Linked DNA regions of Homo sapiens: region 1 is linked to region 2. The links are contacts of gene promoters, found by promoter capture Hi-C in blood cells and fetal thymus (Javierre and others, 2016). All regions are on one chromosome and are shown on one strand. The core of a region is centred on a gene start or on the middle of the fragment in contact, and the rest is flanking DNA. Distances in the headings are between cores, read along the strand shown. Region 1 overlaps ARHGEF6 (Rac/Cdc42 guanine nucleotide exchange factor 6). Region 2 holds the start of RBMX (RNA binding motif protein X-linked).

The links. The method cuts DNA at HindIII sites, captures the fragments that hold promoters and counts their contacts. A CHiCAGO score of 5 or more calls a contact.
Region 1: a fragment that was not itself captured here is called in contact with the fragment with the promoter of RBMX in region 2 in 5 of 17 cell types (total CD8 T cells, activated CD4 T cells, neutrophils and 2 more); the score reaches 7.9 in total CD8 T cells.

The regions. Positions count from the first base shown.
Region 1 is chrX:136,762,806-136,769,421 of GRCh38, reverse strand. All of the region lies in intron 2 of ARHGEF6 (Rac/Cdc42 guanine nucleotide exchange factor 6), which reads left to right. Among named protein-coding and RNA genes, the nearest start is that of ARHGEF6, 15 kb to the left of the region's middle. RefSeq lists an enhancer at 886-995 and silencers at 1,728-2,007, 2,018-2,067, 1,925-2,093, 2,098-2,147, 2,208-2,337. The HindIII fragment of the contact is 795 bases long and covers 957-1,751 here.
Region 2 is chrX:136,878,055-136,883,795 of GRCh38, reverse strand. It overlaps RBMX (RNA binding motif protein X-linked), which reads left to right and starts at 3,071. Exons shown (of 9, transcript NM_002139.4): 1 at 3,071-3,199; 2 at 4,343-4,477; 3 at 4,673-4,779; 4 at 5,710-5,741. The coding sequence starts at 4,369. It overlaps SNORD61 (small nucleolar RNA, C/D box 61), which reads left to right and starts at 4,525; the gene lies at 4,525-4,597. RefSeq lists enhancers at 2,948-3,546, 3,216-3,675, 3,686-3,745, 3,547-4,146. The HindIII fragment of the contact is 13,799 bases long and covers 1-5,741 here.

The DNA.
Region 1 (6,616 bases), core at 105-2,604, 110 kb after region 2:
TATTTATTTTTGAGATGGAGTCTCGCTCTGTCACCCAGCTGGAGTGCAGTGGCGTGATCTAGGCTCACTGCAGCCTCCACCTCCCGGGTTAAAGTGATTCTTGTGCCTCAGCCTCCCAAGTAGCTGGGATTACAGGTGCCCGCCATCATGCCCCGCAAATTTTTGTATTTTTAGTAGAGACAGGGTTTCGCCCTGTTGGCCAGGCTGGTCTCGAATTCCTGACCTCAAGTGATCCACCTGCATCTGCCTCCCAAAGTGCTGGGATTATAGGCAGGAGCCACCGCACCCAGCCCCAAGTTTATTTTTTTTTAAAGATATTTTATTCTGGAAGGATTTCACTGAATGTATATGAGATTCAATTAGTACTTATTTCACTTTCTTTCTTCCTCCTTCCCTCTCTTCCTCCTCTCTTTCCCCCTCTCTTACTCTCTCTCCCTCTCTTTCTCCCCCTCTCTCTTTCTTTCTTTCCAGTACCAGCTGGTAGCAGTATGTTTTTTTCTCTGCCCCCACCCCCTCATTCCCTCCTGTCTCCCTGAGTCACTCCATCTGCCTTGTCACCGGAACAGCAGGGGTGCCCTCCCCAAAGTGAGGCTTGTGGGATGGACGATTTGCCATTTCCCAGGGGCTGCTCTGCAGGGAAGCAGTTCTGAAAGTAAGGCAGCTCTACTAATGATCATGAGTCAAGACTAAATATCTAGCAGCGCGGTGCCTCCTGGGAGGAGTTAGGCACAAGGCCCGGCCTAACCACTACAATTACCAGTAGTTGTAACGGGTATCAGCAGATCTTGCTTCAAGCCCTGACCCTGCCACTTGTGTGAAGTCAGGATCTCCTTTCCCAGGCCTCAGTTGAGTCATCTGTAAAATGAGGAGACTAGAGTAGGGGTTGGGTAATGTCTAATGGTTGTAATGTCTGTTTTTAACTTGCCCATTTCCATCAGTTTCCGCTAGGCAAAGCTTTGCATATTTAGCTGCTCAGTTGGAACTAGTAGGAAGACCAAAGAGGATTTTGGCAAGTTCTTTTCTTCTGTTGTGCAAATCTGACATGCTTAATGGAATTTCCAAGAGTTACATTAAATGTCACCCATGAGTCTGGCTATCCTAATGTTTTACAGATTGCATCGTATTTCTGTAAAAATTAGACATTGAATAAGATTTTAAATATTTCCCATCTATCATGAACATTTTCGTTCTCTCTCAAAGAGACTATTTGATTTGGGGCCTGTTATCAGAGAGGCCGGGAAGGGCATCTAGGATAGTTGGAGGAAGGGTGGTATGTGAAGGGCCTCTGGAGAGCCAACGCTTCTCGGGTGTCTCAGCGGCTCACCATAGAGTTTGGGGGTTCTGAGTTGCATCTGGGGGTGAGGGAGGAAGCAGGCCACCAGAAAGGGCTAGTCCATGAGTCCGGGAATCCCGCCCGAAGCTCTGGCAGTGACCCGCAACATGCCAGGCACCGGCAGCCCTCGGGTAGGGGCTGAAGCGGGCGGCAGCAGCATGCGCAGTGTGGCCGCCGCGGGTACACCGCGGCTTTTGCTGCTGCCACAGCTACCAGGGCTGCTGCTGCTGCTGCTGCTGCTGCTGCTGCTCTGCCTGCGCCGCTGTCACTTCCAGTTCCTACTTCTGCGATCCAGGTCCGGGTCACTGCTTACCCGCTGCTGGCCCAGTGCCTCCAGGCCGCTTTCCCTCCGCTGCTCGGCTCCGGCTGCGGGCAGGAGGGGACCGGCGCGGGTAGCTGAGCGTGGTCTGGAGAAGCTTCGCGGGCTGGCTCCCCCGGCAGTCGCTCCCCTCCACTCGCCACCCCGCGCACCCTCGCCCGGCTCGCAGCCAGCGCACCCAGCGGGGCGCGCCTCCGGCACCCCCAGTTCGGCCCCGCGATCCTCCGCCCGCCGAGCGGCACGGCTATGGCAACAAGAACTTGAGGACAAGACTCTGACTTCCCTTTAGATTAAAAAACAATCCCTGGGCTGGAGAGGTTGCGGGCGCGGCACAGAGTTTGGAGACGGGCGCCCCCTCCTCGCCCGCGTCCAGGCGCAAAGTTGCAGCCGCCCCTCCCCGCTGGGGCGAGCCTAGCCCAGCTCTCCAGTTTCGCCCTGGTGGCGGCCGCGCTCAGGGCAGGGTCCCAGCTCCGGCTGGGTTGATCTGTTCCCGCAGCCTTGGCACAGGCTTGCCCGCCCGCTCGCCGGCCCCGTGACTCGGGAGGGCGAACGGCTTCCAGGAGGCGGCGGCGGCGCGGCTGGAGTGAGGGAGCAGCTGGAGGACAGGCGGGCAGCGGCCGAGCCAGGTGACCTGCCTGGGGGCAAAAGGGTCAGGGGAAGGGGAGCGCGCGAGGGCCCGGGGGTGGGTGCCGAAGGACCCCCTTTGGAGAGGAACCGCCCTTCTTCCCCACTGCCGTGGCTCGCAGCCCCAGCTGCGGGGTCCGTTCTCTGCCAGGGCCTCACAGTTCGCTGAGATCCAGGGTGCCGGGAAGGGGGAGATGAGGGCCAAGGACGCAGAGCGAGGACGCGCCAAACTTAGGGGCGAGTTGTCCAGCTCTGGCCGCAAGGTTTGCATCCGACTGGATTCTTTCCTTCCCCCAGAACCAGAGCAGGAGTCAACAGTACCATTTTTAATACTACTGTGATGCCCTCCCAACCCCGAGCATCCATACATTTGGAGATGTTTTCTGCATTAAGTACAGAGATCTGTCGCAGGAATGGTTTGTAGATGGAAAAGACCTGTATTCTACAAGGTGTTCCAAAGTGCCTGTAGTTAATTACAAGTTTTCATTTTCCAGTCATTTAGGAACCCAACAGGTATTTGAGCTATTTCGTTTCTTAGCTCTGCAGCGGAGAGCCCTCAAGTTTATCTCTGCCTCTTCAAAGGTCTTATATTTTCATTTTTGATTTGTTATTGTTTTTGGATAGAGGGGTAACTCACATGATATTTTTCCCTTTTCTTAATGTGTAGTGGGAGTAAAAATACAGTAAATGAATATATTTTCCTCTGCAATTATGTATATTTTGGTCAATAAAAACTTTGCATAACCCCCCCCCAAAAAAAACCTCACAAAATAGGATAAATTTCAGTTTATGCTCTGTAAAGTATTAATAATTTTAAAGGCAAGATTCAAAGGTTCAAACTGTTTTTTTTTAAACTTATATTTGCCTGGAAAACTCATAGTGTCCTTGGACTTCCTATCTTAATTTTGACATTGACCATGGTAAGAGGATCTCTGATGACATCATTTGCTCCAGCCACAGTCTGGAATTCTGTGACTGAGAGCACCTCTCTCCAAAATGTAAGGCCTGGGCCTGCCCTTGTGCTTCAGCTGAGGCATTTCCAAGGATTTCTCTTCAGCAAAGTATTATGCTACATGCCAGGCAATGCTGCAGTCCCTTCTTACATAATAAGCCAGCTTCAGGCTGGTGTACTCTTTGGGTGTGCTTAGAGCAGTTAAAACAAGGGAGTGTTCTGTCTTAGTCTGGGTGCTGTGCAGATGATTGGAGTTTTGAACAAAGTAAATTTCCAGCTACTATTCTCATATTGCATTTCTTTGGTGCTTAATTTTTTGAATGCCTTCTAGTTATCTGAAACTCCCCGTGCCCTTGTAAAGGATGTAGGAGAGATGGCATTACTTTCACTTGACAAAGAAACAGAAAAGTTTAGTTAATCGAAGTCATACAGCTTATCACTGGTAGGATCAAAACTCTAACCTGGACCTCCTGCTTTCAGCCTAGGTTTTTTCTTTGTTCGTTTATTTTTACTAAAATGTGACATTTTATACAAAAGTGTTTTATGTGGCACATTTTATGGATGGTATGTCTTCCAAGCTACTAATTTTTTCTATTCTTTTTGCCTACTCACATCTCAGCCTTGTCTTTGCTTGTGCAGGGCTGGCGCTGTTCTTAGGGGTAAGGACAGGAGGAGAGTTTTTCAAAGGATGGTCTGTGGTTTCTATTTACCTACAGTCTGCCTCTTCTCTACTCACATTCAGGGAGAGCAGGTGCTGAATAGAGTGAGTAGCCAGGGCCCAGAAATTTCTGATATTCATTTGACATCATTAGTCCAAGTATAACATTACTTCAATCTTTACAAAGAAACTCATTCAGGAGAGGAAATTGAAGAGTATGAGTTTTGTTCTTTTATAGCAATCTGTTTATCACTGTGCTTAGGACCGTAGATGCAAAGGAGGAAAAGGAGTTGAGTATCTACCATTTCTCAGGCACCTCCTATGTTCCAGGCACTATGCTAGGTGCTTTAAATCTATTATCATATTTAGCCCTTGCAACACTCCTGGGAGGTAGGTGGCATTGTACTCATTATACCCTGGTGGAAACCAAGGTTTGGAGATGATCCAGACTGATGCCTCACACTGCCAGTGCAAAGAAGAACCGGAATGTAATCACTGATGTACCTGACTCCAGAACTCATTCCCTTTGCCTTGTGCTAGGCTGCTGTTGCCCCCAAAGCTATTGATAAATACAGGAACACCTAGCTCCTTTGTTTTCAGACATGGCTGTACATTGGAGTCACTTGGGATACTTTTTAAAAATACAAATTTTGGGGTCTTATAACCCAGAGATTTTGAGTTAATTGGTCCGCAATGAGGCCCAGCCACTGGTATTCCTTTTTTAAAAAAATGCTTAAATCAACTTTATATTTACATTCGGGAAATTGCACAAATCCTAAGTATATAGTTTGGTGAATCTTCGCAAACTGACACACTCATACAGTCTGCACCCTTATTAAGAAACAGAACAGGATTGGTGCCCAGAAGCTATCCTCGTGCCCCTTCCCAGTCACTATGCCTCACCAAGGGGCACTACTATCATGACTATCCACCACTATCGTAGTAGATACCCTGCCTTCCCACCTGTTTTGGTACTCTATATGAGCGGACTCATACAGTATGTACTTGTTTGTATGAGGTTTCTTTCACTCAGCATAATATTTGTACAAGTCACCCGTGTTGTTGCAGGTAGTAGTGGTTCACTTTTTTTCTTGCTGTATAATATTTCATTGTATGGATATACCATGTTTTGTTTTTCTATTCACTTGTTGATGGACATCTACATTGTTTCCAGTTTTTGTTTGCTGTGAACAATGCTGCTATGAAGATCCTCGTGAGTGTCTCCTGGAGAATATATACACCCATTTCTGTTGGGTTTATGCATTACAGTGTCACTGCTACGTCATAGGGTCTGCATGTGTTCAGCTTTAGTAGGTACTGTCCAGCCATTTCCCAAATCAGACAAGCCTTGTGATTTTTTTTTTTTTGAAAGCTCTGCAAGTGATTCTAATGTGTATCCAGAGTTGAGAACCATTTCCCTGGTTTATCCAGCGTTCAGCAACCTAGTGACCTCAACTGTCTGCCACTAAGCTGAGAACCATACAGAAGGAGATACCAACTTTCTTCTCAGCCTGGAATCTTCTGGACAGTCTTCTCAGCAAAATTGGGCAGCTTACACTTATTTTCCCATAATCCCTTGTGCCAAGCTACCTTTATACTGCTCGTCCACCCTTGCTTTGTTTTTTTTTGTGAACACATCTGCTAGTCTCAGAACTTTTCAAAGGTAGGAACTGGAGCCTGATCTTCTTTATTTTATTTCTTTATTTATTTTGAGACAGAGTCTCGCTCTGTTGCCCAGGCTGGAGTGCAGTGGTGCGATCTCTGCTCACTGCAACCTCTGCCTCCTAGGTACAAGCGATTCTCTTGCCTCAGCTTCCTGAGTAGCTGGGATTACAGGCACATACCACCACGCCCGGCTAATTTTTGTATTTTTCATAGAGATGGGGTTTCACCATATTGGCCAGGCTGGTCTTGAACTCCTGACCTCAAGTGATCCACCCGACTTGGCTTCCCAAACTGCTAGGATTACAGGCGTAAGCCACCGTGCCCGGCCGTGATCATCTTTATAACCCTAGCGCCCAGTACAGGACATGGCACAGAGCAAGTGCTTAGGAAGGGTTTGTTAGATGAAAGATTGATAGAATGACTGAGTACTCAGAGAAGATCTGGGCTGCAAAGGAGACATCCCATCTTTGCACTAAGAATTATGTACTTTATTCATAGGACACTGCCTCAGGCCCTTGCTCAAAGCCTAATTGCTTTTACTTATCTCAGCATGTTAGCATTATGGGTAATCTGGTTGCTCACCCTGAAACTGATTAGAAATAGCAGATTAAATGAGATGAGGTAAGGTATGTGAAAGCACATTGTAAACTGGAAAATAGCATCTAAATAGAAAGTTGTGATAAAGGGAAATGAGGGGCTGCCCTAGATTAGATACACTGGCAATGGCAGAAACTCTATATATCTATGTACAACGTGGAATAACTGAAATCAAAAGCATGTCAGCAAAGGAGACAGAAAAACTATAAAAAGCAGACCCCCAAACACATAACTCTCTGGGGACTTTTGATGTGGTGTCAGGCATGCTGTGTGGTCTAGTCGCTAGAATATGTTCCTTTTCCTGCCTTGGTCTGGGTTTGATTCCTGGTTAGGGCAGCCTTTTTTTTCTTGAGAAGTTGTATACCAGTGCAGGGACTATGAGCTTGAGCTTTGGACATGGACTGACCTGGTTGGCCACTTATTAGGTATATGCTAACCTCCTAGGAGGTAGTAGTAATACCACTTATT
Region 2 (5,741 bases), core at 1,822-4,321:
CTTTGGGAGGGCGAGGCGGGCGTATCACCTGAGGTCAGGAGTTTGAGACCAGCCTGGCCAACATGGTGAAACTCTGTCTCTACTAAAAATACAAAATTAGCCGGGCATGGTGGCGTATGCCTGTAATCCCAGCTACTCAGGAGGCGGAGACGGGAGAATCGCTTGAACCCGGGAGGCAGAGGTTGCAGTGACCCAAGATCGCACCAGTGCACTCTAGCCTGGGCAATGAGAGCGAACCTCTTTCTCAAAAAAACAAAAAAACAAACAAAAAAAAAAGGAGAAGAAGAAGAAGAAAAGTGAAAATTGTCCATAAATTCTACCACTCCAAGATAAACTGGTAACATTTTGGCATATTTCCTCCCAGTTATTTTGTCTCCATATGTATTTTTTTAATAGCTCATATTATGTGATCTTGGGCCTTCTTTTCCCACTGTACTCTCTTGTTTGGTGGTTTCATTCATTCTGATGGCTTTTATTACATCTCTGAGATGATAATTTAGCACAGATCTATGCTCTGAGCTTCAGATTTTTCTGCCCCTATATCCCAAACTTGCTCCTCTGAAACCATTTTGGTAAATGACTGTTACCATCTGTCCCACTAATACCAGATACTTGGAGTCATCCATAATGATTTTCTTTTTCCGCAATTCTTCCCCACCCCTTTCCCATCTGTCTTAGTCCATTCCTGCTACTATAACAAAATACCATAAACTGGCTGGCTTATAAACAACAGAAATTTATTTCTCACATTTTTGTAGGCTGGGAAGTCCAAGATAAAGACGCCAGCATATTCAGTGTCTGGTGAGGGCCCACCACCACCAGTTTTCTGGTTCATATAAGTGGCACCTCACTGTGTTCTCACATGGTGGACAGGGGCCTCTTTTATAAAAGTGTTAATCCCATTCATGAGGACCCTACCCTTTTGTGACCTAATCTTCTCCCCAAATCCCCGCCTCCTAATGCCATCACCTTGGGTATTAGGATTTCAACATATGAATTTGGGGGAGGACACAAACATTTAGACCATAGCACCATTAAACACGATACCTATCATATTCATCTAACAATTGTTCTTTCCTCCCCGTGTCCACTGCCGCCACCCTGATTCAAGCCACCATCCTCTCTTTCTGGTCTGCTCCCACAGCCCTATTAGTGTCCTTTTTCCCACACTTACCCCCTACAGTCATTTAATGGGCTCAAAGGTCCTGCCAATCTTGGCTCCCTCATTTCATGCCCCTCATATTCTTGTCACCTGGCCCTCTTTCTGTCCCTTGATATATGCCAAGCTCTTCCTCTCTACTTTGTGTTTACTATTCTCTTCTTTTCCTGAAGGTTTTTCCCTCAGCTGTTCCCATAGCTAGTTTCTTTTCTTCCTTCAGCTCTGATCTCCAAAGTCACCTCTTCACATAGACCTTCCCTGATGTTTTAATCAAATTTGTTCTCCCTAATATTGTCCATCAAAGCAACTAGTTTATTTCCTCCCTGGCATTAATCACAACATGCCATTCTTTTGTTAATTGTATTCAATTTCTTTAAGAAAAAAATTAAAAAATTTTTTGGTTTCCCCCCTCAACAAGTAGGATGGGCAGATGAAATATAGAATGCTCAGTTAAATTTGAATTTCCGATAAACAGCGAATTTTTAAAATATGAGATTTGGGACATACTATACTAAAAAAAGTATTCGTTATCTGAAATTTAAACTTAACTGGGCGTCCCTTTTTTTTTTTTTAGACGAAGTCTCGCTCTGTTGCCAGGCTGGAGTGCAGTGGTATGATCTTGGCTCACTGCAACCGCCGCCTCCTGGGTTCAAGCAATTCTCCTGCCTCAGCCTCCCGAGTAGCTGGGACTACAGGCACACGCCGCCACGCCCGGCTAATTTTTTTATTTTTTATTTTTATTTTAGTAGAGACGGGGTTTCACCATGTTGCCCAGGCTGGTCTCAAACCCCTGAGCTCAGGCAATCTGCCCGCCTCGGCCTCCCAAAGTGCTAGGATTACAGGCATGAGCCACCGCGCCCCGGCCGCGTCCCATATTTTTATTTAAAATTTTTTAACAGCTTCGCAGAATAAATTAGCGTCCCGCATTTTCTTTTTTATTTTGAGACGGAGTCTCGCTCTGTCGCCTGCCCAGGCTGGAGTGCGGTGGCGCAGTCTTGGCTCACTGCAACCTCCGCCTCCCGGATTCTCCTGCCTCAGCCTCCCGAGTAGCTGGGACTACAGGCGCGTGCCACCACGCCTGGGTAATTTTTTGTATTTTTAAAAAGAGACGGGGTTTCACCGTGTTAGCCAGGATGGTCTCCATCTCCTGACTTCGTGATCCACCGACCTTGGCCTCCCAAAGTGCTGGGATTACAGGCGTGAGCCACTGCACCCGGCCTGGTATTTTCATTTATTAAATCCGGCATCCTTACCCACAGGCCTGACTCTTGTCTTTTCCCTGGAGTTGTATTTTCCTGGCCTAGCCCAGAGCCCACCATTTACAAGGTGCTCAGTAATTGTTCTATATGAATGTACTATCTGCATGCTGTTTTGTACGTTTTTTACTCATCTGAAATTTACATGTATTTATCAGAAATTCCCACACTCACTAAAAACACTTGTTAAAGACAATTTTTGAAAATATATTATATTGCCAAAACTTCTTTGTTTTCCGTTTCTGCAAAATTGGTATAGTAGGAGTATCTACCCTCATCACATTTTGACAATTAGAAGAGTTAATGGAAAAGTAAAAGTAAAGTTTTGCACCGTGCCCGGCCCACTAGGACGCTCAATAAACTTCAGTTCTTTATTAAAGGAAGCCTGTGCACCATTTTAGCGTAAAGCAAAAAAAGCGCGTTTGTAAAGAACGGGTGGGGGTAGAGAAAACGGTTAGAAAGGTCTGTCGACCCAACACCGAGGGCCCGGGAAAAAGGGAGGAGAGAAGGGTGAATGACAGAGGAGCCAGCCAATGGGGAGACTGGGAACTACTTCCCCCCTCCCTTTGCGTTTCAAATTCTAAGCTCCGTTTCCATCCGGGTCCTTCAGCCTCGTTCCCGGGCAGTATAAAGTTTGCTGTCTCCTTTGTTCGCCCTCGTTGCGCAGTAGTGCTAGCGGCTTCGCGGTTCGGTCCTCGCACCCGGCAGCCGCCACTGGTGCTGAGCTGCTAGGAAGCCCCTATCGCCGAGCTCGTTGGAGCTTGAACCCATTGTCACCCCTCCGGTACGTGTCTCCTTTCCTCAGTCCGTTTTTCGTGACACTCTCCCCGTGTTAGGACTGGGGATTATATCTCCCTGGAGATGGGGGTGGCGGGCGCCATTTTAAGAACCCAAAGGTTCCGACCTATTTAAATAAAGCTGAGGGGGTCGAGGGAAAACAAATGAGGGGGCCCGTTTGGTTGTATGCTTCTCGAGAAAGTTTGGCTGCCATCTGCGGGAGTTGGTAGCGGAGGTCGGGGCTTTGTAGGCTGGAGCGGGGCGAGGAGCGACCGCACCACGGCGATACCTGCATTGGTATGGCGCTGGCGCTAATGATGGGCATGTGGACTTCCATGCGGGCTGCGGGCTTCGTATTCATTGGCGGCCCCGGAGAAGAAGCCCTCTGAATGTTCCCAGCCAATGTTGGTGGTAAAAGTTAGTCCCCTGACCAGTGTCGGTGGTTCTGGGTTGAATCCAAGTGTCGCCATTTTGTCTTTTACACGCGGTTTTTAATGACGAGTTTTAATTAGGTTCCGCTGCAGTCACGGAGTGTCGAGTGTTAGTGTGTGCGTCCGCGTTCCGTTACTTAATAGCAAACGATGTTGACGATTTGTTTTTATCTTTTTGGCCGGATAGTAGAATTTTCGGTAGGGCGGGGGCCGGTGAAGAAGAGGGGCGGCATAACTTGGCTTAAACTTCACATTTCTCCTTGGATTTAGTAGGGAATCCTAATGAGGAAAAGAGGAGTCGTTGGAAGAGGGCTTGGTGTTAAGGTCCTGTGTCTAGCCTGTGACCTTGGGAGTCTTTTAAAACCATCGTTAGGAAGGGTGTGATGAGTAATTGAATCTTTCAAAGGCAAGAGGACTGGAACTAAAAGTTGCTTTTTCAAATGTTAAGCAGCTGTTGCTTAAGAACAGCTAAGGGTGATCAAGGGTAGTGGTAAAAGTTAAGTTGGCCCTTTTAACCAGTTTTATGTAAATTGCAGTGTTACTAAACTACTTAGTTCAAATTGCTTCCTACTGTGGCTGAGGCTTAGCTCGTTATCGTTTTCTTTAGTTATTAAGGAACAATGGTTTTAGTGGAAAATATGAGAAATGTGCGAAAGTAAAAGTGTCCAATAAACTTGAGGAACTTTTTGCAGTGAGGTAATACTATTCCTTTTCAACAGACTCACCGGCCCAAAAAAAAAAAAACATGGTTGAAGCAGATCGCCCAGGAAAGCTCTTCATTGGTGGGCTTAATACGGAAACAAATGAGAAAGCTCTTGAAGCAGTATTTGGCAAATATGGACGAATAGTGGAAGGTGAGTTGTCTGGCAGTACAGGCTGGGCTATTATAATTAAAATATAAGCTATGATGAATTTGATTGCATTGATCGTCTGACATGATAATGTATTTTTGTCCTCTAAGAAGTTCTGAGCTTTCTGTTTACACATTTACTTTGGTTATTTCATTTGACCTAGGGTAACACTTTATTTTTCTGAAAACTACTTTTTAGTACTCTTGATGAAAGACCGTGAAACCAACAAATCAAGAGGATTTGCTTTTGTCACCTTTGAAAGCCCAGCAGACGCTAAGGATGCAGCCAGAGACATGAATGGAAAGGTGAGATTGTCTACACGATGGATGATAACCTGTTACTAGTGCATAAAATAACATGTAGTTGTCCAAGTCTGGTCTAGGACAGCTTTTGAGTTTTCGTTGTTTTTCAGTATATACCTGTCTGGGATCCACTCATCCTGTTTGTGATCCTGTTCCAAAGAGTATTCTGTAATTGCAGAACCAAATCTAGTAGTGAGTTATATCTTATGCTCGTAACATTCTCTCAGTTCAGAATAATTATGGCATTACATGGTACTTTTTTTTTTTTTTTTTTGATAGTCTCCCTCCGTTGCCTAGCCTGGAGTGCAATGGTGCAGTGCCCACTGCAGCCTGTCTCCCGAGTTCTAAGCGATTTTTCTGCCTCAGCCCCCCCCCCCCCCCCCAGTAGCTGGGATTACAGGCATGCGCGACCACGCCCGGCTAACTTTGTATTTTTAGTAGAGACAGGGTTTCACCATGTTGGCCAGGCTGGTCTCAAACTCCTGACTTCAGGTGATCCAGCTGCCTCCGCCTCCCAAAGTACTGGGATTACAGGTGTGAGACACTGCGAGCCACTGCGCCCAGCCAACATGATACATTTTATCTTGAGATCCATAAGCCATATTTTGATAACTTGGCTTTTGGTTTTGGCTACTAGTTTTGATAACAAGCTGATACCTACTTGGCCTTGTTTTAAATTTTACCATACAATAATGCAGTGGGTTCACCTTATGTTTCAATCCAGATCATCAGTATCGGTTTTAAGTATTAAGAATTTTAAGCGGAAAAGCCCCATTTATGTAAACTGACTATATTTGCAGTGTTTTTTCTTAGACTAATGAGCAACACTTACCCATAACTGCATTTTGAAGGACCAGTTAGTGTCTTAGTGCATAGTAGATGTGCAAATTATTTTTAAATCTTGATTTAATTTAATCGTATCTTTTTTTTTAGTCATTAGATGGAAAAGCCATCAAGGTGGAACA